5 separate regions of the Homo sapiens genome follow, and all the other regions are linked to region 1. The links are contacts of gene promoters, found by promoter capture Hi-C in blood cells and fetal thymus (Javierre and others, 2016). All regions are on one chromosome and are shown on one strand. The core of a region is centred on a gene start or on the middle of the fragment in contact, and the rest is flanking DNA. Distances in the headings are between cores, read along the strand shown. Region 1 holds the start of ANKRD46 (ankyrin repeat domain 46). Region 2 holds the start of POP1 (POP1 ribonuclease P/MRP subunit). Region 3 overlaps POP1 (POP1 ribonuclease P/MRP subunit). Region 4 holds the start of AZIN1 (antizyme inhibitor 1). Region 5 holds the start of KLF10 (KLF transcription factor 10).

Region 1 (3,703 bases), core at 431-2,930:
TATACGCTTGCTATATGAATGCCGAATATGCAAATTCTTAAATCTATAATAGGTAAGGCTAAGAAGTTTGGGACTATAAAGCCCAACTTATTTCCACAATGGGAAATACAATTTCCCTTTTGATAAAGAACTGTGAGAATCCTTTGTTTTCCATAGTAACACAATTTATATAACATGCCAAAAATTCCTTATCACTTCACATCCTCTCTCCAGTGCCTTTCCTGTATTCTGTAAAATATTAACTTACTATCATCAAAAAATCTTTGATTTCCCTCTGGTACTGCTACCATAATAATGCAAAGGCAAAGTGAACTCACTAAAAAATGGTATGGAAACATAAATAATGAAGAAATGTAATAAAGTGTGTTAACAACCAAACAAATTCATCTCTATTTCAAATCAAATTGTACTGGCACAGTGAGAACCCCAGTCCAAGTTTAACTTTATTATCACTATAGTCCTTAATGAGCTAACAGTTTTCTTACTAAACTCCTTTTAAACTAAAAAGGAGTTCATGTAGGACTCCTGCATATAACCATGAAAACTAAGCCTGAGAGAAATCAGTTCAGGCTACAAATCTAATTGATAAAACTCTTAGACAGCGCTACATGTTTGGCTAGATAACAGACGCAGGGATACTGAAGTAAGGGAGATGAGACCAAATCTCGCTCAGCCTTTGCTAGCTTTCTGACCTTGGAGAAGTCAGACTCTCGGTGCCTCAGTTTCCTTATCTGTATAATGGAAATGGTACCTGATAGGGTTGCTTCAAGGATTAAAGGTACCAGGTATTTAAAGCAATGGCACCGTGTCTGACATAAAATAAGCACTGAAAATAGCTATTACTAGAACATAAAAATAATCCCCACACCACTCATATTACAGCTCTTTAAGAGGCTCCTAGGTACCACCGTCATTTTTTAAAGATTGAGAAGCGCTACTATTCAATGGCATATTTTTACCTTATTATGTTCTGTAGCCAATTCCGAATACCGTGGAACGTTACAAAAAACAGATGTTATTTTCTTGAGGTACTGTTGGGAAAACCTCAGAGAGAACGATCTGCTTTTTAGCACTGCAAGCCAATTAAGGGAGGAAGTTTGCGATTACCCGAGCCCTAAGTGGAAGGTGTGCAAATCCTTCCTTTTAACCCGGGCACCCCGGAGCCATGTGCCATTCTGGAGAGCTCACTCACACCCCAACAGCTTGTCCCGGCGCCTGAACTGTGCGCTCCTGCAAGCACACGCCGCGAAAGCACCGTCTCGCCCCGGCCGAGCAGCTGGACCTGCGGCGTGGCTTCCGCGCTCCACCCCCCGATTAACCGCGAGCCAGGGCTGCCCGCGCTGCCCAGGGGTTCCCCGGACCACAGCCCTAACCCGCAAGCGCAAACGAGAACCCTCGCAGGCCTCTGCCCGGCCCTCGTGAACACACAGACCGCGAAGAAGCCATCACGGACCCGCGGTCGCTTCCTCGGCCCGGCTCCCTCCAGTCGCCGCGGAAGGTGTGGGAAGCCCGGGCACCCTCGCCCCTCAGGGCCCCGGCCAGGCCTACTGGACCTCCAGTGCTACAGGGACGGTGCAGGAGATATCAAGTGGCTCTAGCCCAGGCGCTGCCCACAGGCCCCGGGCCAAGTACCTGCGACTCGAACGAGCAGCAGCGACAGCGGCAGCTTCAAGGAGGCGGTGACGGGCGGAGGGGAGGGGCCAGACAGGGGTAGTCGGAGTCCCCGCTGGGCCAGAGCGGTCTCGCGCTGCAGCCCCCGGCGCGCCCCCTGCAGGTGGGCGGTCCTCACGGTGGCTCGGGCTGCTCTGAGTCAGAGACTCCGGGAAAGCCTGCTCTGAATTAGGGAAAGCATCAAAACTGTGGCTTCAGAAGAGAAAGACAGCCTAGAAGAGGTTTATCCGATCTGAGTCCGGGAGCATTTTGCACTTTTCACGTCCTATTCTAAATTCACATCCCATCCCCTTAGCTAAATGGGGGCTTCAAAGGCAAGGGCAGTTTCATTAGGTGCTATAAGCATCAATTAATAGTTGCTGGCCTCTAGGTAGGTCTTCTATAGACCCGAAATTGACATATTAGGAATAGCCACTAATGATTGGCTGCACTATTTCTAAAATATAACCCTGCATTTTTACTTTTTTCAAAAGCAGTTTGAATCTTTTTTTTTTTTTTTTTTTTTAGACGGAGTCTCACTCTGTCGCCCAGGCTGGAGTGCAGTTGCTCAACCTCGGCTCACTGCAAACTCCAACTCCGCCTTCCGGGTTCAAGCGATTCGCAGTTTGAATCCTTCCATCCTACTTTGTAGGGTTCCTTGACTTATTGCAACATGTACAGCCAAGACTAACTAAAAGTGTGGTGGGACATTCATATGCTGGAAACATTCTTTCATGCAAAACTAGTTTTTTCTTTTTTTCATTTTACCAACTCCAGTCCTACAGCCAAGACAACTCTCACTGCACAGTGACCGTCCTCTGAATTCTAGCACCCTCATCCAACCAAGCCACGCTCTATGGCAAACTTGTCCAACCCCTGGCCCACACCTGCAGGCTGCATGCAGCCAAGACAGTTTAGAATGCAGCCCAACACAAATTAATAAACTCTCTTAAAACATTATGAGTTTTTTTTTTTTTGCAATTTTTTTTTAGCTCATCAACAATTGCTGGTGTTAGTGTATTTTATGTGTGGCCCAAGACAATTCTTCTTCCAATGTGGCCCAGGGAAGCCAAAAGATTGGACACCCCTGCTCTAGGGTATCTCATGGTTCATTCATTCAAGGACCACCTACACCATCTAATAATTTGTTCTTGAAAGTGTCATGTAAAGGTTTAGGACTATTGTCATATTAGAGGAAATCACTATTACATTTCTTTCATGTAAGAATTATAAGATCTGGCCATGCACGGTGGCTCACACCTGTAATCCCAGCACTTTGGGATGCTGGGGTGGACAGATCACTTGAGGTCAGGAGTTCGAGACCAGCCGGACCAACATGGTGAAACCTTGGCTCTACAAAAATACAAAAATTAGCCAGGCACGGTGTTGCACACCTGTAATCCCAGCTACTCAGGAGGCTGAGGCACAAGAATCCTTGAACCCCAAAAGGCGGAGGTCACAATGAGCCGAGATCTCACCACTGCACTCCAGCCTGGGTGACAGAACAAGACTCCATCTCAAAAAAAAAAAAGTTATAAGATCTTAGGGCATTTCACATTTTATTGTGCTATGACTAATCAGCAATATTACTTGTTAAATTGATGACATTTATTAATCAGTTTGTTATTGATGTCCTCCTTCTGGTTGTGTATTGAGTTTATAATATCTTCACTGATGCCTATAAACTATGACAAATTAGCAAGGAAATTAAAGCTTTTCCCAATGTATTAATAAGATTTACTCTTCATTAGTTGACTCATCCAACAATCTGAGAGCCTCTCCATTACTTCTATTCAAATTTATCTCTTCCTCTTCATGAATTACTGCTTTTGATTGATATGAAAAAATGTAGGGATGGTGAAGACAGCTTTTTTCTCTGATGAGATTAAAGTGAACTGCATGCTGCACATATTCTATGGCTCCTTCATGTTACCACACCTGGGCACTTTGACACAGTGGCTGTTAGGAGCTGATATGGTTTGGCTGTGTCCCTGCCCAAAATCTCATCTTGAATTATAATAATACCCATATGTCAAGGGCAGGACCAGGTGAA
Region 2 (3,703 bases), core at 556-3,055, 2.4 Mb before region 1:
ATTAAGGAGAAAAAAAATCATCTTTAGAAAACAAATTAAAACATCACTTGAAAGTTTTTAATTAAACTTTTTTTTTTTTTTAAATAGAGATGGGGGTCTCACTATGTTGCCCAGGCTGGTCTTGAACTCCTGACCTCAAGCAATCCTCTTACCTCGGCCTCCCACAGTGCTGGGATTACAGGCGTGAACCACAGTACCCGGCTAAAGAAACATCACTCTTAACAAAGAGAGAGCAGGCCTCAGGTTTTGAGCCAACTGCAATATCTAGCTAAAATTTAATAATACCTTTTTTTAATTGAGTTTATTTTTTACTATTACTTTCTATTGAATTGTTTTCTATTTAGTGTACTGTTGTAAAGTTTCCTTTTTCAATTAACTTGTTAAATAAAATGAAGTGAGCCATCTCAAAGAAATAGGTTAAGTAAATTATAAGTGATATACAGATTTGGCAAACAAACAAACAAAAAAGACAGAAGTAGCACTTGAATTATGAAAACTTTCTCCCCAAAATCTTTATACCATGCATTCTTCTACCTCCATGCCCTCACTCAAGCCATTCCCTCTACCTGACTTCTACCTCCATGCCCTTCACTCAATGACTTCCTGTTGAAATCCTTAATAAATTAATTTAAAAATCAAACTTTACAACACTACTATAAATGACAAAACCAACCTTCAAAACCAAAGGACTACCTCTCACAAGGAACCTTCCTAAATCTTCTTTTTCCTCTTCCACCCCAAGTTAAAATCAATTTGTCTTTTTTCTCCTTTACTCCCTACCCCACTTGCCCTCTCACTTCTACTGCATTTTATTTATTTCCAAGTTTTCTATAATAATTCCTGTTCTGCCACATCTCAGTGCCTTTTCTCACAGCAGTAGGTTTAAAGGAGGGAGCTGTTGATGGGGCTCTTTTCAGTTGGGAGAGAGGCAGACCAAGTATGAAGCTAATGAAAGAAGTTGGTCATAAAGGACTGCATGTTTTATGATTCAATTTATAGGAAATGTCCACAACAAGCAAATCCATGAAGATGCAAGTAGATTGTCAGGGGCCGGGGGAGAGGAGAATGGGGAGTGAATGCTAATGGGGATGGGATTTATTTTTGGGGTGATGAAAATGTTCTGAAGAAAGTGGTGATGGCTGCACAACTCTGTGAGTATGGTCAAAACCACTGAATTGTACATGTTAAAGGGGGTGAATCTTACGGTACGTGAATTATATCTCAATAAAGCTGTTACCAAGAAAACAAAAACGACCCCCTCCCCCAAAACAAAACACAGGGTCTGAAGGCTTCTAACTGGGGAGAGCTTTCTGGCAGGCTGTGCTCCGCAGCGAGGCAGCCCCAGAACGAGCAAAGTCCCATGGAGTGCAGGTTCCTGGTCCCATCGTGGCTCCCAACTCTCTGTGGGTCTTCGGGCGCGTTGCTTACTTTCCAGGCTCAATTTCCTTGCGTGTTAGCTGGGGCTCCGGCCCGGAGTGGCCCCAACCCCGAATCCCCGAACCCGCACGCCCTGGGTCCGACACAGCTTCCACCAGCCACGTTACCTGTAGGGTCCAATGGCCCCTGGGGCTTTCGCGGTGCTGATCACCCTTCTGATCAAGGACGACATGGCTAAGCCTTCCCTCTTGCAGCCCCTTCAGGAGAAGAAGCCCCAGCACCAGCCCTGCTGGCTTCTTACTGGACTGACCAACCACAGCAGCGCCTCTGCCCCACAGCTCCCGCTGGGGGCGGGCTCGTGCGGCATTCTGGGAACTGTAGTTTCGGCGACGCTCCAGGCCACGTGGAGGAAGCGCCCGGTCTGGCGCATGCGCTCTCCAGCGCGCTCTCCAGGAGCTTTGGCTCGGTGGGTACTGTCGCGGAGGCTTGTCATTCTGACCCGGGGATTCCTCACAGCGTCTGGCAGGTTGGTCGTGAGGGGCTGGTGCCTTCCAGGATGCGAGTGTCGGGGGAACTGTATGCGGCGGCCCCCCTCCCGGCGCCCGTCTCCCCTCTTCATCGTTTCTCTCTCAGACTCCGCTGACCTCTTTCCTTGCTGCCTGTGCCCGGGGCCCCTCTCCCTGGTGTCGCATCTCCTTCGGCCCCTGCGCTGGAGCCCCCTACGTCAGTCATTTCCCTTCATTGCCCCGCCGGGTGGAGGCCGTCCTGGGAATGGGCTTGCATCCCCTCTTCTGCAACCCCAAATGACTAATATGGGTCATTCTGGCGACCACGCTGAGATCTGGGCGTTGGTCCTCCCGTGTTCCCTTTCCTGCTCCTCCTGTGTTCCCTTCTCTAGGGTGCTCCTCGGGCTTTACAAGGTCACTGTCTGAACAGAGCCCTAGTGATTGGGATATCATTTCAGAAAGAAAGATGGTGATCTGGAATGGCCCAGATCCCTTGTAAGTATTCTGCTGTGTCAGAAGGGGTGGTACTTGGCTAAATATTTCTTATCCTGTTAATATTTGCATTGTAAGTACGCTTCGTTTCTTCATTTATGCGGGCACTCATAGATATATGAGTCCCTACTTTGTGTAAGGCACTCTGCTAGATGCTAGGAGGAATGCAACAGTTAAAAAAAATAATAATAAAATCTCTGCCTTCCCTGCTTCCTAAAGATAATACAAGAAAATCTGCTTTATTCCCTCTCATTTTGTCCTACATACTGCTAAGGTTTTGGCCTTCCTACTTCCGGCTCAGGAACCTTCTGATCTTTTTCATTGGTTTGGGGCCTGGAATAAAAGACCTTTCAGTCTGGCCTCCCCTTGCCTATTCAAGTTTCATTGTCATCTACTCCCTTTTCCCACTAGAGTCCTCCTGTATTCACACTGTGGATTCCTGAATACTCTTTCTTCCTTATCTGTGCAAATTCCAGCTAACTGAAATTCTATTTTCTCTTTGACTTTTCCTACCAATTCACATTTTTTTCTTTTTCTTCTTTCCTTCCTTTCCTTTTCTTTTTCTTTGTTTTCTTTCTTTCAAGACAGGATCTCACTCTGTCACCCTGGCTGGAGTACAGTGGCATGATCTTGGCTCACTGAAACCTTGACCTCCTGGGCTGAAGCAATCCTCCAGCCTGAGCATCTCAAGTAGTTGGGATTACAAGTGCACACCAGCACGCCCGGCTAATTTTTGTATTTTCTGTGGAGACGGGGCTTCTTCATATTGGCCAGGCTGGTCTCCAACTCTTGGGCTCAAGCAATTCTCCCACCTCAGCCTCCCAAAGTGCAGGGATTACAGGTGTAACCATTATGCCCGGCCTCATTTTTTTTCTTTCCCTTGTCCTGTTTCCTATTGTGCTGTACCGCATAATTTAGTATTTTATTATATGAGATCCTATTTTCTAATTGTTATGTGTTTCAAGAATAGTGGATTGGAGAGGGAAGGGGTGGAAAAAAAAAAAAGAATAGTGGATAGAGTCAGACTGCCTGGTTTGAATCTCAGCACAATCACAAGCTTAGTAGCCTTGGACTGGTATATAAAATCTCTGTGCTTCGATTTCTTCATTTATAAGATGAGAATAATACTAGTGACCACAGAGTTGTGAGAATTAAATGAATAAGTCATGTAGAATAGTGCCTGCCACATCAAGTTCTCAATGCTGCCTAAGATGACAAAATTCTTATTCTACTTTGGAATTATACACAGCCTGAAACTATTGGGCACATAGTAGGTGCCCAAAAGTTTATTAAATCTGATTAAACTAGATAATTAAGACATATTTTTA
Region 3 (3,703 bases), core at 771-3,270, 2.4 Mb before region 1:
GATCTCTTGGTCTGTGTAGTTGTGGCTGAAAATAATGAGAAGCTCTACGAGTTATCATCCCCTTTTTTTGTTAGAAACAAAGGGCTTGTCAGGTCTATTTGAAAAACCTCATAGTCATGTGATAAGCAACAATAGATGTTTAATGATTTCACTGTTATAGCAGAAGACAAGAGAAGACGCTTGGCCTCTGTACATGAAATATGGGCTCCTGATGGACCTCATTCAATTCTGTACTGTGATTTCCATGCCGAACAACTCAAGCCTTAAAGAGAGAAATCATGGACAACTGATTTCTGCCTGTTTTCAGGCAGGCACAGTTTATGGCGTCAGTGCTAGGCTGGAATTAGAAAGTGGGGGTCTATGACGTGGACTTCCTGACTCTTTGATCTCTTTGTTGTTGACCAACACTTGATCCTACTAGTTACTTAATTTTTTTAAGTAAAAAATTATTATTATTTTGTTTCTGCAAAGATTTTCTCAAAGCCATAGAGGAGCATTTCTCAGAATATGTTCTATGATATGTGTCACCTAAAAAAGTAAGAGATTCCAAGGTCAGGTTGATATGGAAACTCTAGGTTAAATAAAGTTAAGCATTTCTTTATGAAAGAACTTCTGGAAACTTCCATGTGATAATGTGCATTGCGGATCTCTAGGAAGGAAATGATAGTGTATAGTATTTTCTAAATACTTGTGATTCCTAAAGTTCTCTTACAAGGAGCCCTTTGTAGGACCAGTGTTCTTAGTAGCGCGCTTTGGGCAGTGTGGCTGTGTAGTGCATAGCTACCTCTGCAAGGTGATAACTAAGCCGGCAAGCTGCCTTTCAACACTCATGCAGTCACGTTGTCCACCTGAGATTCTCAACAGGGTATAAAAGGAAGGTCTCATCTTGCCTCACAGGAAGAGTGGGCTCAGTGTGGCTTTTTTCCAACTATGGAGAAACTCAGTGCTCATCTACTTTAAGTTTCCACATATGGCTTGCTCATAGCCTTGGTCCTTACCTTTCCTGCCATAACTTTCTAGAAGAGCTTAATGGGATTTTTTTTCTAAAAAATGTAAATATGCAGTTAGGCATTATTTTATGTAAATGCATTGGGTTTTTACTGTAGCATTTGGCACTAAATGGCTTTGGGGGTGATGAGGTGGGGAAGGATACAGCAGGTGGTACAGTAGTCAGGAAGTACCTGCCACCAATGAGATGTCTGATGCTTTGCCTCTTACCATGCCTCTGAATGTCTTTGGATCCAACCCAGATGAGACTGAAAAAAAAAAAACAGTGTAACTAAGTGGCATCTGTAAACAGAATAAATGAAAATGTCACCTGATGTTCAGTTGTGAATATTTATATTTATTGGACCATTCCTTATTTGTTTTCTGGGCTCTCAGTCACCTCATTTGTGGCTGAGCTCACTCGATGACAGAAGTCTGAGTGTGCTGCGTGGTCACCTAACCTCATTCTGTACAGCCCTGCCTAGGGCCTGCTGCCCCGCCCTCATTATAGGGGACAGGGCACGTTTGCAGCCACTCTGCCTGGTGGGTGGTAGGTCAAAGAGCTGCGCACCAGAAAGATAGATTAGCATTTCCCAAAATGTATTCCTGGGAGTACTAGTCCCTGCAGCTGTTCCTGGAGAAAAGTATTTTATGGCTAAATAAATATGGGAAAAGCTATATATGGTATCCTCCTATTATGATTCACAATGAATACTTGCAGAGTCAAAGCTCTGCAAAGCTCTTTAGGAAAGAAATCTGTCTTTCAGACTCCCACACACGTACCTTTTTTGGTTTTTGCATACCTATTGTCCAGAGAACACTAGTTTCACAGAAGATACGTTGAAAAACTAACAGACTCTGCAGAGGCAGTAAAGAATCCATGTTCCTTATGAAAAAGACTGATAGGGGAATGGCTTACTTTCTGGCAGTTGAATTGATTAGCGTGTTGATCTTGATCCTTCCAAGTGCCTGCCATGCTGTACTAGAGCTACATAGCTACCAAATAAGTGCAATGTGGCCCTTGTCCTCTTGTTGAGGGAGCAATGCTTTTAGGGTTCTTGAAGCATCCTGACCAACATGGTGAAACCCTGTCTCTACCAAAAATACAAAATTAGCCAGGCATGGTGGCGCATGCCTGCCATCCCAGCTGCTTGAGAGGCTGAGGCAGGAGAATTGCTTGAACCCGGGAGGCGGAGGTTGCAATGAGCCGAGATCGCACCATTGCACTCCAGCCTGGGTAACAAGAGCAAAACTCCATTCCAAAAAAAAAAAAAGAAAAGAAAAGGCAGAGTTGTGAGCTGAACACTTACAGACCAGCTATGCACTTGAGTTCTGTAAGAAACAATGGATTCCTTTTGGTGTTTATGCTCTAGTAATATTGTTCATATCAGTCATCCATATTCATCATAAAACAATTAGAAAATGAAGATGAGCAACAATAACAAAATTTAAATCACCTGGATTTTCACCATGCAATATAACTAGTTACCTTCTGTTATGTATCCTAGACGTTAAGATGTATGTGGGTAGTTTTCTTTTAATAACATAAGCCGTTGCTTATATAAAGAGCTATACCATGCAAGTGCAGCAGAGTGCATGTTACCAGTTTTTTTGTTGGTGCTTGACTGGCAAGAGCTTTAAGGATAATACTCCTTTTTTTTTTTTTTTTTTTTAAATGGGAAGTTAGTATGTAACCACCCATCATGTACTAAGTGTAGCATTGCCGTCTTGGCGGCCACATGCCTTGCGTGAGTTCTTTCTTCCCAACCAGTGGGAGGTGAGGGGGGCGGTTGACAAGCTATATGGACTCCCTCATAGTCTTAACTGGCCTACTCGTAGCCAGCCGATCTGAGGCCTGGGGAGCACAGAGATAGGTCCAGGATTGAGCTGTTTAGCAGAGAATACATAGCCTGTAGCAACTGTGGGCCACTCAAGCATCAACCCCAGTTTCACAGCGGTTCTGGTTATTATAGGCCTCCTGAGGACACAGAGGAATACAGGCACTGCCTTTTCTTTGGCAACAGCAGCTTCCAGTCTTGGCACCCTTCCCTTCCCCTCCCCTTCCCCTCTCCTTTCCTTTCCTCCCCTTCCCCTCTCCTCCCCTCCCCTCCCCTCCTCTCCCCTCCTTTCCCCTCCTCTCCCCTCCTCTCCCCTCCTCTCCCCTCCTCTCCCCTCCTCTCCCCTCCTCTCCCCTCCTCTCTTCTTCTCTCCTCTTCTCTCCTACAGTCTTACTCTGTCTGCCCAGTCTGGAGTGCAGTGTCACGATCTTGGCTCACTGCAACCTCTGCCTCCCGGGTTCATGCGATTCTTCTGCCTCAGCCTCCCGAGTAGCTGGGATTACAGGTACACGCCACCATACCCGGCTAACTTTTGTATTTTTTAGTAGAGACGGGGTTTCACTACGTTGGTCAGGCCGGTCTCGAACTCCTGACCTCAAGTGATCTGTCCACCTCGGCCTCCCAAAGTGCTGAGTTTCAAGTGTGAGCCATTGTGCCTGGCCTTTGGCTGCATTTTAGAATCACCCAATAGCCCAAGCTGCAGCCCAGAAATCAATCTTGGGTTGGGCCCAAGGATCAGTATTTATGAGCTCCCCAGGCCGTTGTGATGTGCCGCTCAGTGGAGAATCGCCGCTTTCGGAGGTCTGGCTCTTGGACCCTCTGCACCTTGGGGAAGTGTGACTGAGTAACAAGGCCATGGAAACCCAAGAACTCCTGTG
Region 4 (3,703 bases), core at 598-3,097, 2.3 Mb after region 1:
TGCATCGACAAATAAGGTAAAATGTTAATTACAGAATCTAGGTGGAAGTATAACTCTTTTTCACCTTCTGTTTGAAAACGTATGTGATAAAACCTTGGGGGAGAAAGGCACTGACTACTCGACCTCACTTATCACCACCGATAATCATTTTCTTTTGGAGTCTTTCCTAAACTCCTTGGGGCTTATTTCTAATCATGATCAGCATCTGCACGCTCTCGTATATGTAAAAGAAATTAATGAATTATGAGGGCCTTTCTAGACAATCATGAGCCATGTTTCTGCCAACCCTTGCTGTATTTGATGTGCTTTGATGTACTTCTACTTTGTGCTTTGATGCACCTCTACATCAACCTTCGCTGAGCACAAGGCAATTCCCCCTCCTTTGAGTCCTTAGATTCCCACCCAGTCTGGGAATTCACGATAGAAACACGACGGGACACAGAACTAATATAACCAAGATGCCACCACAAAATTCAGTTAAATGTGCTGAAACATGAGGCGGTAAACTGTGTCCCCGACTGTTTCGGGTTTCTGAACCAGCAGCTTTGTCTACGAAACACACATTCAGGATACCGTGTAAGGGTTAGAACATGTTACCACCACCAACTGTTGGCAGTCAAGACAGTAGTTGATAAGCCACCCGTCTACCAATCTCCCTCTTTCTGCCTAGGAACCATGGCGCGGACGGAAAAACGAAGCCATGGTGACTAATCCTCAGGCTCCAGGAGGTGACTGGGGTGAGTGAAGGCGACTTGACCCAATCAGGAGCGCCGCAGGGGCGGAGCAGCAGCCTCGAGGCTTCCAGAAGGGGCCAAAAGCCTCTCGCTGGCTACCTGACACCGGGGCTTCCCCGCCGCCAGGCCCCAAGTGGCGTCAACTTTCCTCCACCAGAGGGGGACCGCGCTCCCCGCGCCCCCCAGGAATCCGACTTCCTCCGCAGCTGTCACCAGAGGCCGGCGCGGGGCCCGCCCCGCTCCATTCATAACCAGGACCCCAGCCGTTGCAGCCCACAGCGCCGCCCGCCCGCCGGGCTTCGGGAGGCAAAGGTGGCGGCGGCGCACCGCGGAGTAGGGGCTGCGGGACCCCGGCCCCTCAGGGCTGCGGCCGGGCCCCCTCCCCGGAAACAGCAATGCACCACGGGAGAGGGGTGGGGGCCGCACGCCGCCAGGAGGGGACGGCGACCCCCGGCGGCGAGACCCCCGCGCGCTCCCCCACTGGCACACGCCCCCTCGCCCCAACTGCTGCGGCTCCGGCTCCGCCAAGCGTCCAGCAGCCGCCCGAAGGTCCTGAGGCGCGGCCCGCCGCCCAGCCCCGCCGCCGCCGCCGCCGCCGGGGGCACAGACAGCCGCCGCCGCCATGTTCGAGGCGGCCGGCCGCGGGGCGCTGCGGGGACGTCTTAAGGGCGGCGGGGCCCAGCCGGAGCCCCCCAGCCGCCCCCCAAGGCCAGCCCCGCGTCCTGGCCCCTCCCGCGCTCCTCGGCTCGGTACTCACGTGAGATAACGGCCCAAAGAGTCGGGTAAAGCGTCTTCTCTTTTTCGGCGGAATTTTTAAAGAGGGATGTGGTTACCTTGAGCAGAAATACCCAAGGCGGCCTGGGCCATAGGCTGCGGGAACGACTTGGGGGTAAAAGCGCGGCACCGACACCAGCTGTGTGCAGCAGTGGCGGCGGCGGCCGAAGGAGAAATAGAACAGCGCAGGCAAAAGAAGAAAGGCGCGGGCTGGGTGGGAAGAGGATTCGGACTCGTCACACTGCAGAGCAGCAGAGCGAGAAAGGATGAGAAGAGGCAGAGAAGGCGACGGCAGAAGAAAAAAGGAAAAACTGCGGCCGCGATCAGAGCCTGAAAGTGTGAGAAGGCGGCGCCAGCGACGCCAGTATTTATATTAGGGGGCGTGGCCTGGTGACATCACAGCTGGCCGGGCAGCCGCGCGAGCGGGGCGGAACCCGGTTGCAGCCCGGAGAAAAGGGAGGGGGACGGAAGAGGAAGGAGGACTGAGCCCGGGAGAGAGAGGGGAGGGGTCGGCGCGCGACCGGGTCATGCAGGTGCAGACTGGCCGGTCGCTTCCCGCCCTCCAGCCACCCGCAGCTCCCCGGCAGGCGAAGGGCGGCCGCGCGGGTGTGGGCCGAGAGAGGGAGGCGGCTCGGCTGGAGCGCGCCGTCCGCCCGACCCCCGCCGCCTCTCGGGCGCCTGCGCTCACGCTGCGGGGCCCAGCGCATTGTGAGCCGGGTCGAGCTCCACGCTGGCAGCGTCTGAGAGCTGTCCTGGGCCGGAGGTGGCGCGAACCCTGTGCGGCCTAGAGTGGGCCTGGGGTAAGCCTGTCGGCGCCGCTGCCGAGCCTTCGCGTCCAGCTCCCTCCGCTTTGTGAGGCCTGTAGTTTACCCTGGGGAGTGTCCTCCCGGGCTGAGGCGCCCGCCCTCGGTGATGCGGTACTCCTTTAGGGAAGCGAGTTCCTCGTGGCCAGAAAGGACCGGCCCAGTGTCCGGGTGTTAAAAAGGGTTGTGACCACGTGAAAATGTCCTCAGTGCTCGAACGTTGCAATACGGTGCAGTGGAAATTTTTTAAAGGAATATGGCTTTTATGTCTTCATTTTTAAAAGGATTGGTGGAGTCAGTCCCAAGCAGGACCCGCGTTGGAGAGGGGATTACTGATGTTACAAGCGCACATTACTTCAATCCCCTAGGTCTCATTTTCGCGGTCGTTTTAATTTTTCTACTCCACAACAGACTTTTTTTTACTAGGGGTTCTAAGATTACCTACATAGCTTTTAATTTATTTTCATCTTTTTTAGATGCCTCAGCACTAATGATCATGATCAGAGACCCCGAGTTCTCTCGTGCTGCTACGCTTCGCAACACATAGCACAAATGGAATATGTGTTGACACACCCCTCTGAAGTTAAGATCTTTGATATTAAGACCCTGACTTTTTTCCCTTTCATTCTTCCGAACCCTCTGTGTACTTTGAGCAGCACTGTGGTTGATTAATAAATCATCAAATGTGAAAGGAAGAAAGCGACCTTCCTGTGTGGAAAAGCAGGGTATCTTGCGAGGCTGTATGAGAGAGTATTCGGTAGAATCAGGAGCTGTGGACGCATTCCTGATTTTGTTTTTCCTTATTTTGCTCGGCTATATCTTGGCTCTGTCTTTTATTTCTTCAAAGTTCTGTTCTATTCAGAACATTTGAAAACACAGCCATTCACTAGACCCTCTCTGGTGGAGGAAGAAAAACTAGAGATGAATACAATATTTGAAACCTTGCTTACAATCTAGCAGGGGAAATAAGACAGCAATACAAAATAAATTGTTGGCTGATACAAATAAAATGCTGCAAGGACCAAGTGGAGGGAAGAGATGATTGCAGCTAAGTGAGAGAAAGGCTGCTGGGGAAAGGTAAAGAGTGATTTTGAGAAAAGCCTTTCTAGACAAAGGTGCTTCCTTTTTCACCAAACTCGCCTGTTTGGTGATTTTGAGAGTAGATGTTCCAGTGTTCCAGGCAAGGGAAACGGATGAGAGAAGGCACAGAAGTGGGTGGGTTTAGAGAATTGTGAATAGCCTTTCTGGTTCCAGCATAGGGGCATGGTTGCAAATGAGATTGAAACGGTAGATTAGGGTGACATCAAGAAGACATTGGAGGCTGGGCGCAGTGGCTTACACCTGTATTCCCAGCACTTTGGGAGGCCGAGGAGGGCGGATTACCTGAGGTCG
Region 5 (3,703 bases), core at 536-3,035, 2.1 Mb after region 1:
CGGATGGGGCCGCCCTAACCTCAATGAGGCTCACGGGTGAGTCACTGGGAACATTCCTCGCCGCTCGCACGTCCCCGCGCCCCTGCCCCCGCCATTGGCCGGCCGGCTCGGCGGCCCGAGCCCGGATTGGCTGTGCGGCCCGGGGCGGGGGCGTGGGCGAGGAGGGGGCGAGGCATGTGAACAAAGCGTGATCAGCGGCTGCTCCGGGAGGCGCAGGAAACGTGAACTGGGAATTGCCGCGCCGTCACCTTTCCCCTACTTCCTGAGCTTGCGGGCCCCCGCCCGCGCCCGACCCGGGGGAGGGGCCGCGGGCGCCGCCGCCAACCGCCCGGCCGTGCGCGCCGGGCCCGCGGGGAGGGGCGGGGCTGCGGGCGCCAGGCTCCGGGAGGCGCCCGCCCCTTCCAGCTCCCCGCGAGCCGCCGTTCCCTTAGGAACCGACAGCGGGGCCGGGCCTCGCTCCCGCCCCTGGCGGAGGCCGGGGCTGGGTCACTCGGGGACGAGAAGCTCCCCGGGCGCACCCGCTCCCGGCCCACCCCCGGCCTCCGCCTCAGATGCGGGAGGAGGAGCCAGGTCCCCGCGGAAACCCGGCCGCCGCCCTCCTCCCGCCGGCAGCCCCCGGGAACCCGGCCGAGCCCTCGGCACTTCCCGCCCACGCGGCCCACGGGACCTCAGACCACCCCGTCTCTCCCTGTAGACGCGGCGCCCCCTCCCCGTGGCTTCCGGCAGCTCCAGGCCCCTCCCGCCGCGCGTCTCCACGGGTTCCCAGACGTGCAGCCCCCACAGGCCCCGGCTCCAGACGCGCGGCCCCCGCGTCTCGCGGCCCAGCTCCCCCCGCCCACCTTCCCGCCCCAGCTGCTGGGTCCCGCTTCCCACCCTCCTGCCCCAGAGGCGGCTCCCCGCCTCTTCCAAGGAGTCGTCAGAAGGCGGCCACCTGCCCCTGGGGTAAGAGTCCCCCTCCAGACGTCTGGGGGAGCAACTCGTCCCCCAGGGCTGTCGGCGGGCCCTCGTGTCATCCCCCCGCTCCGACGACAGGCGCCCCTTCCCCCAGCCCCGAGCTATCTGCTGAGCAGCCCCCGTCTTCCAAGCGTGGGTTCAGACCCCCAGGATGGGTAGCCCACTCGCCTCTCCTGTGGACACCCCGCCTCCCGAGTGCTTGCGAGCAGCCCCTTCCTCCCCTGGCTCGCGTTCCTGAGCCAGACCGGGCATCTCTCCTCGGTACCAGGTGAGGGTAGCCCCCTTGTCCCTCCCGCGACTCTCGTTCCACACTGTACCCCAACCTCGCTGCAGGGCAACGGCCCCCTCCCCACTCCTCCCCCGCTCGTCATCCTCCTCCTCACCAGCCCTCTCGGGTCTCCATGCGGAGTTGTCCCTTCCCCTCAGTACATCTAGAGCAAGACCCCTGTCCCTGTCTGAAGATCCCAGCCCCCTGGTTCGACCCCCTCCCGAACACACACGCCCTCACTAATGCCCATAGTCTGCAGGCAGGAAGCCCTTTCCTTCCCCACGACTCCGCTGCAGCCCCAATTCTCAGGCATGGCTGATGTCCGGGGCTCGGGGTTCGCGCCCCCTTTGGCCCCCCAGACAAGACCAGGCGAGGAAGCACAGGGGCATCCCCAAATGACTTACCGCAGTCTGCTGGAGAGAGGCACCGAAGTTGAGCATGGTTGGCTGCTTGGCCGCCGGCGGCAAGCTGACTGGCTGCTAGGCTGCTGGCTGCTTGGCCACAGACGGGCGCACGGAGACACTCGACGCCGCTCCCGCCGCCGCCGCGCTCAGCGCCGTCTGCCCCCTCCCCATTCAGGTAGCCGCTCAGCCTGCCCCGCGCCGCGGGCGGGGGTGGGGGCGGAGCCTGAGGCCGGCCAATCAACGGCAAAGGTGTGTGAGGCGCCGGCCAATGGGCTCGCGGGGCCACGCGTGATCGGCGACTGCCCGGCAGCGTGAAGCTGGTGTCAGTGGAGCGTGTACACAATCCCCGGCAGCGTGTTCCCTCTGCCCTGCCCCGGGGAACTCCAGAGGCCACCTGATTGAGTGACGCCCCCCGCCCCTCGCCCACCCCTCGCCCACTCCTTGCCCCTCGTCCCCCGCCCCTGCCTAGAGAGGCGGTGCCGCGGCCGGGGAGGCGCGGCGACTGCAGCGCGCCCAGGCACTGCGGAGGGCCAGCCCCACGTGGGGGGTGGGGAGGGATGCCCGCTCCGCCCCGTCCCCTCCGCGCCGGGCCTCGTCTCAGCCCGCCACGGAGTGGGCGGGACGCCAGGCAGGCGGGGGACGCGGCGGCTGCCAGCCAAGGGGCCGGAGCCAAGAGATTTGCATTGGAAGCGCCATCCTCTTGCGCGTCTGATGAGGAAGCAGAACCCGGTGACCGACTGAGCTGCATTTCTGAAGCATTTGCTGGGTTTTGCCTCACTAAGCCTCGGGGAGCACTGGGGCGCGGGATGGGGGACCCTGTCACGGAGCCGACACCTGCTCGCGCGCCTCTCCCCCGCTCACGCCGTGCCGCGGGCTCGCCCTCCCCATCTGCAGCGCCCGCAGCGCCTGCCCGCCCCGCCCATCCTTCCTCCTGGGCAACCCAGAGGATGGCGTGAGGACTCCTGGAAGCCCAGAGGACCGGACCAGGGGCGTGGTGGGGAGCCGTAGACCCGAGTTTTTATCCTTCTCTGGCGCCGACACTCGGCTGCGGAATCGAGTTTGAGCTCGGTGTAGCTGAAGTTTAAATTGTAGCTGTTTCAAAGGTAGACCCCACCTCACCCCCACCCCTGGACCAAGACCTCTGGAAGCGTCCTGCCTGGAAGCCGCTTGTGGGGAGGGCTCTCCTAGGGTCTCCAGGCTCCCGCTGGAGCACGCCTGGAGGTGGGTTTGCCGGCCGTTCCCTGAAACTGGCACCACTACCGCCCCACCCACCCACTCCAGCTGGTGGGAGGCAGGCTGGGTTTCTGAAAGGAAGCCGCCCGTGTGCTGCGCCTGGGGGCTGGGGCTAGGCCTTCTGATCAGGAAAGCCCATGGCCCTGCTTTGGCACGGATTTGCCCCCGTTTGGCCGTTTGTGCGTGATCACAGCAGCTGTTGTTGGAGAGGAAGGCAGTGATAACGGGGCTTAAAGCAAATCGGAGATCTTATCCGATTTGGACAGGCTGAATTTAAGGCAAAAATCACTGTCTCTCCTTCGAGCACTCACGTCTCTGTAACTGAATGAAAGGCTGGTAATGCAAATAGCATTTCTATCCCAGTAATCACAGAATGAACACAGGAAGGGAATTAATTCTTTTAGAAACTGCCAATGCTATGCGTATCTTCCGATGGTTTTTTTCTAATGTATCTAAGGCCCAGGCTAGCGAACAACAGCAATAATAATGATAGTAATACTGTTGGCCAGGACCAGAGAGGCCCAGGGCTGCGGGGATGAGGAGGGAATGGCCTCCTGTCACCGCCCCTCCTGAGTCTGCTGGAGAGGCGCCAGCTCAGCAGCCCGGCAGCTCTTCCTGCCTCTCCCCACCCCATGTCCCTGCTTCTGTCTGCGGGGTGTCCCTCCCCACAGGTTTCCTTCCGCCTGGGCTGTCCCATCCTGTTGACCCAGCCTGAGGGCTGGAGCAGTTGGCCCTGGACACTGTGGCGGGAGAGGAAGCTCCTGTATGCCCCTCCGGCAGGCCTACCTTCCTTCCTGTCGGGCCCTCCCCTGGGGTGGCTTCTGCTAGACCCTCCAGGCCAGAA

What was found. The method cuts DNA at HindIII sites, captures the fragments that hold promoters and counts their contacts. A CHiCAGO score of 5 or more calls a contact.
Region 2: a contact is called between the fragment with the promoter of POP1 here and the fragment with the promoter of ANKRD46 in region 1, in 2 of 17 cell types (monocytes and non-activated CD4 T cells). The highest score is 5.9, in monocytes.
Region 3: a fragment that was not itself captured here is called in contact with the fragment with the promoter of ANKRD46 in region 1 in 1 of 17 cell types (total B cells); the score reaches 5.2 in total B cells.
Region 4: the fragment with the promoter of AZIN1 here is called in contact with the fragment with the promoter of ANKRD46 in region 1 in 1 of 17 cell types (naive CD4 T cells); the score reaches 6.6 in naive CD4 T cells.
Region 5: a contact is called between the fragment with the promoter of KLF10 here and the fragment with the promoter of ANKRD46 in region 1, in 1 of 17 cell types (non-activated CD4 T cells). The highest score is 5.4, in non-activated CD4 T cells.

The regions. Positions count from the first base shown.
Region 1 is chr8:100,558,079-100,561,781 of GRCh38, forward strand. ANKRD46 (ankyrin repeat domain 46) reads right to left here and starts at 1,681. Exons shown (of 5, transcript NM_001270377.2): 1 at 1,633-1,681. RefSeq lists enhancers at 1,583-1,877, 1,845-1,984 and a silencer at 1,675-1,844. The HindIII fragment of the contact is 4,322 bases long and covers 1-3,361 here.
Region 2 is chr8:98,115,488-98,119,190 of GRCh38, forward strand. It overlaps POP1 (POP1 ribonuclease P/MRP subunit), which reads left to right and starts at 1,806. Exons shown (of 16, transcript NM_001145860.2): 1 at 1,806-1,903. It overlaps RIDA (reactive intermediate imine deaminase A), which reads right to left and starts at 1,684. Exons shown (of 6, transcript NM_005836.3): 1 at 1,545-1,684. The coding sequence starts at 1,609. RefSeq lists enhancers at 1,789-1,838, 1,909-2,078. The HindIII fragment of the contact is 6,678 bases long and covers 1-3,430 here.
Region 3 is chr8:98,158,514-98,162,216 of GRCh38, forward strand. It overlaps POP1 (POP1 ribonuclease P/MRP subunit), which reads left to right. Exons shown (of 16, transcript NM_001145860.2): 16 at 1-1,322. Among named protein-coding and RNA genes, the nearest start is that of NIPAL2-AS1, 16 kb to the right of the region's middle. The HindIII fragment of the contact is 4,067 bases long and covers 1-3,703 here.
Region 4 is chr8:102,862,316-102,866,018 of GRCh38, forward strand. It overlaps AZIN1 (antizyme inhibitor 1), which reads right to left and starts at 1,848. Exons shown (of 12, transcript NM_148174.4): 1 at 1,492-1,848. It overlaps MAILR (macrophage interferon regulatory lncRNA), which reads left to right and starts at 1,956. Exons shown (of 3, transcript NR_126339.1): 1 at 1,956-2,308. RefSeq lists enhancers at 1-725, 2,194-2,926 and silencers at 1,075-1,304, 1,965-2,314. The HindIII fragment of the contact is 10,250 bases long and covers 1-3,703 here.
Region 5 is chr8:102,653,940-102,657,642 of GRCh38, forward strand. It overlaps KLF10 (KLF transcription factor 10), which reads right to left and starts at 1,786. Exons shown (of 4, transcript NM_005655.4): 1 at 1,627-1,786. The coding sequence starts at 1,662. It overlaps LOC101927245 (a long non-coding RNA gene), which reads left to right and starts at 2,309. Exons shown (of 5, transcript NR_160672.1): 1 at 2,309-2,847. RefSeq lists silencers at 1-755, 1,656-2,675, enhancers at 1-522, 1,816-2,416, 3,017-3,617, 3,618-3,703 and a promoter at 1,642-2,376. The HindIII fragment of the contact is 6,240 bases long and covers 1-3,703 here.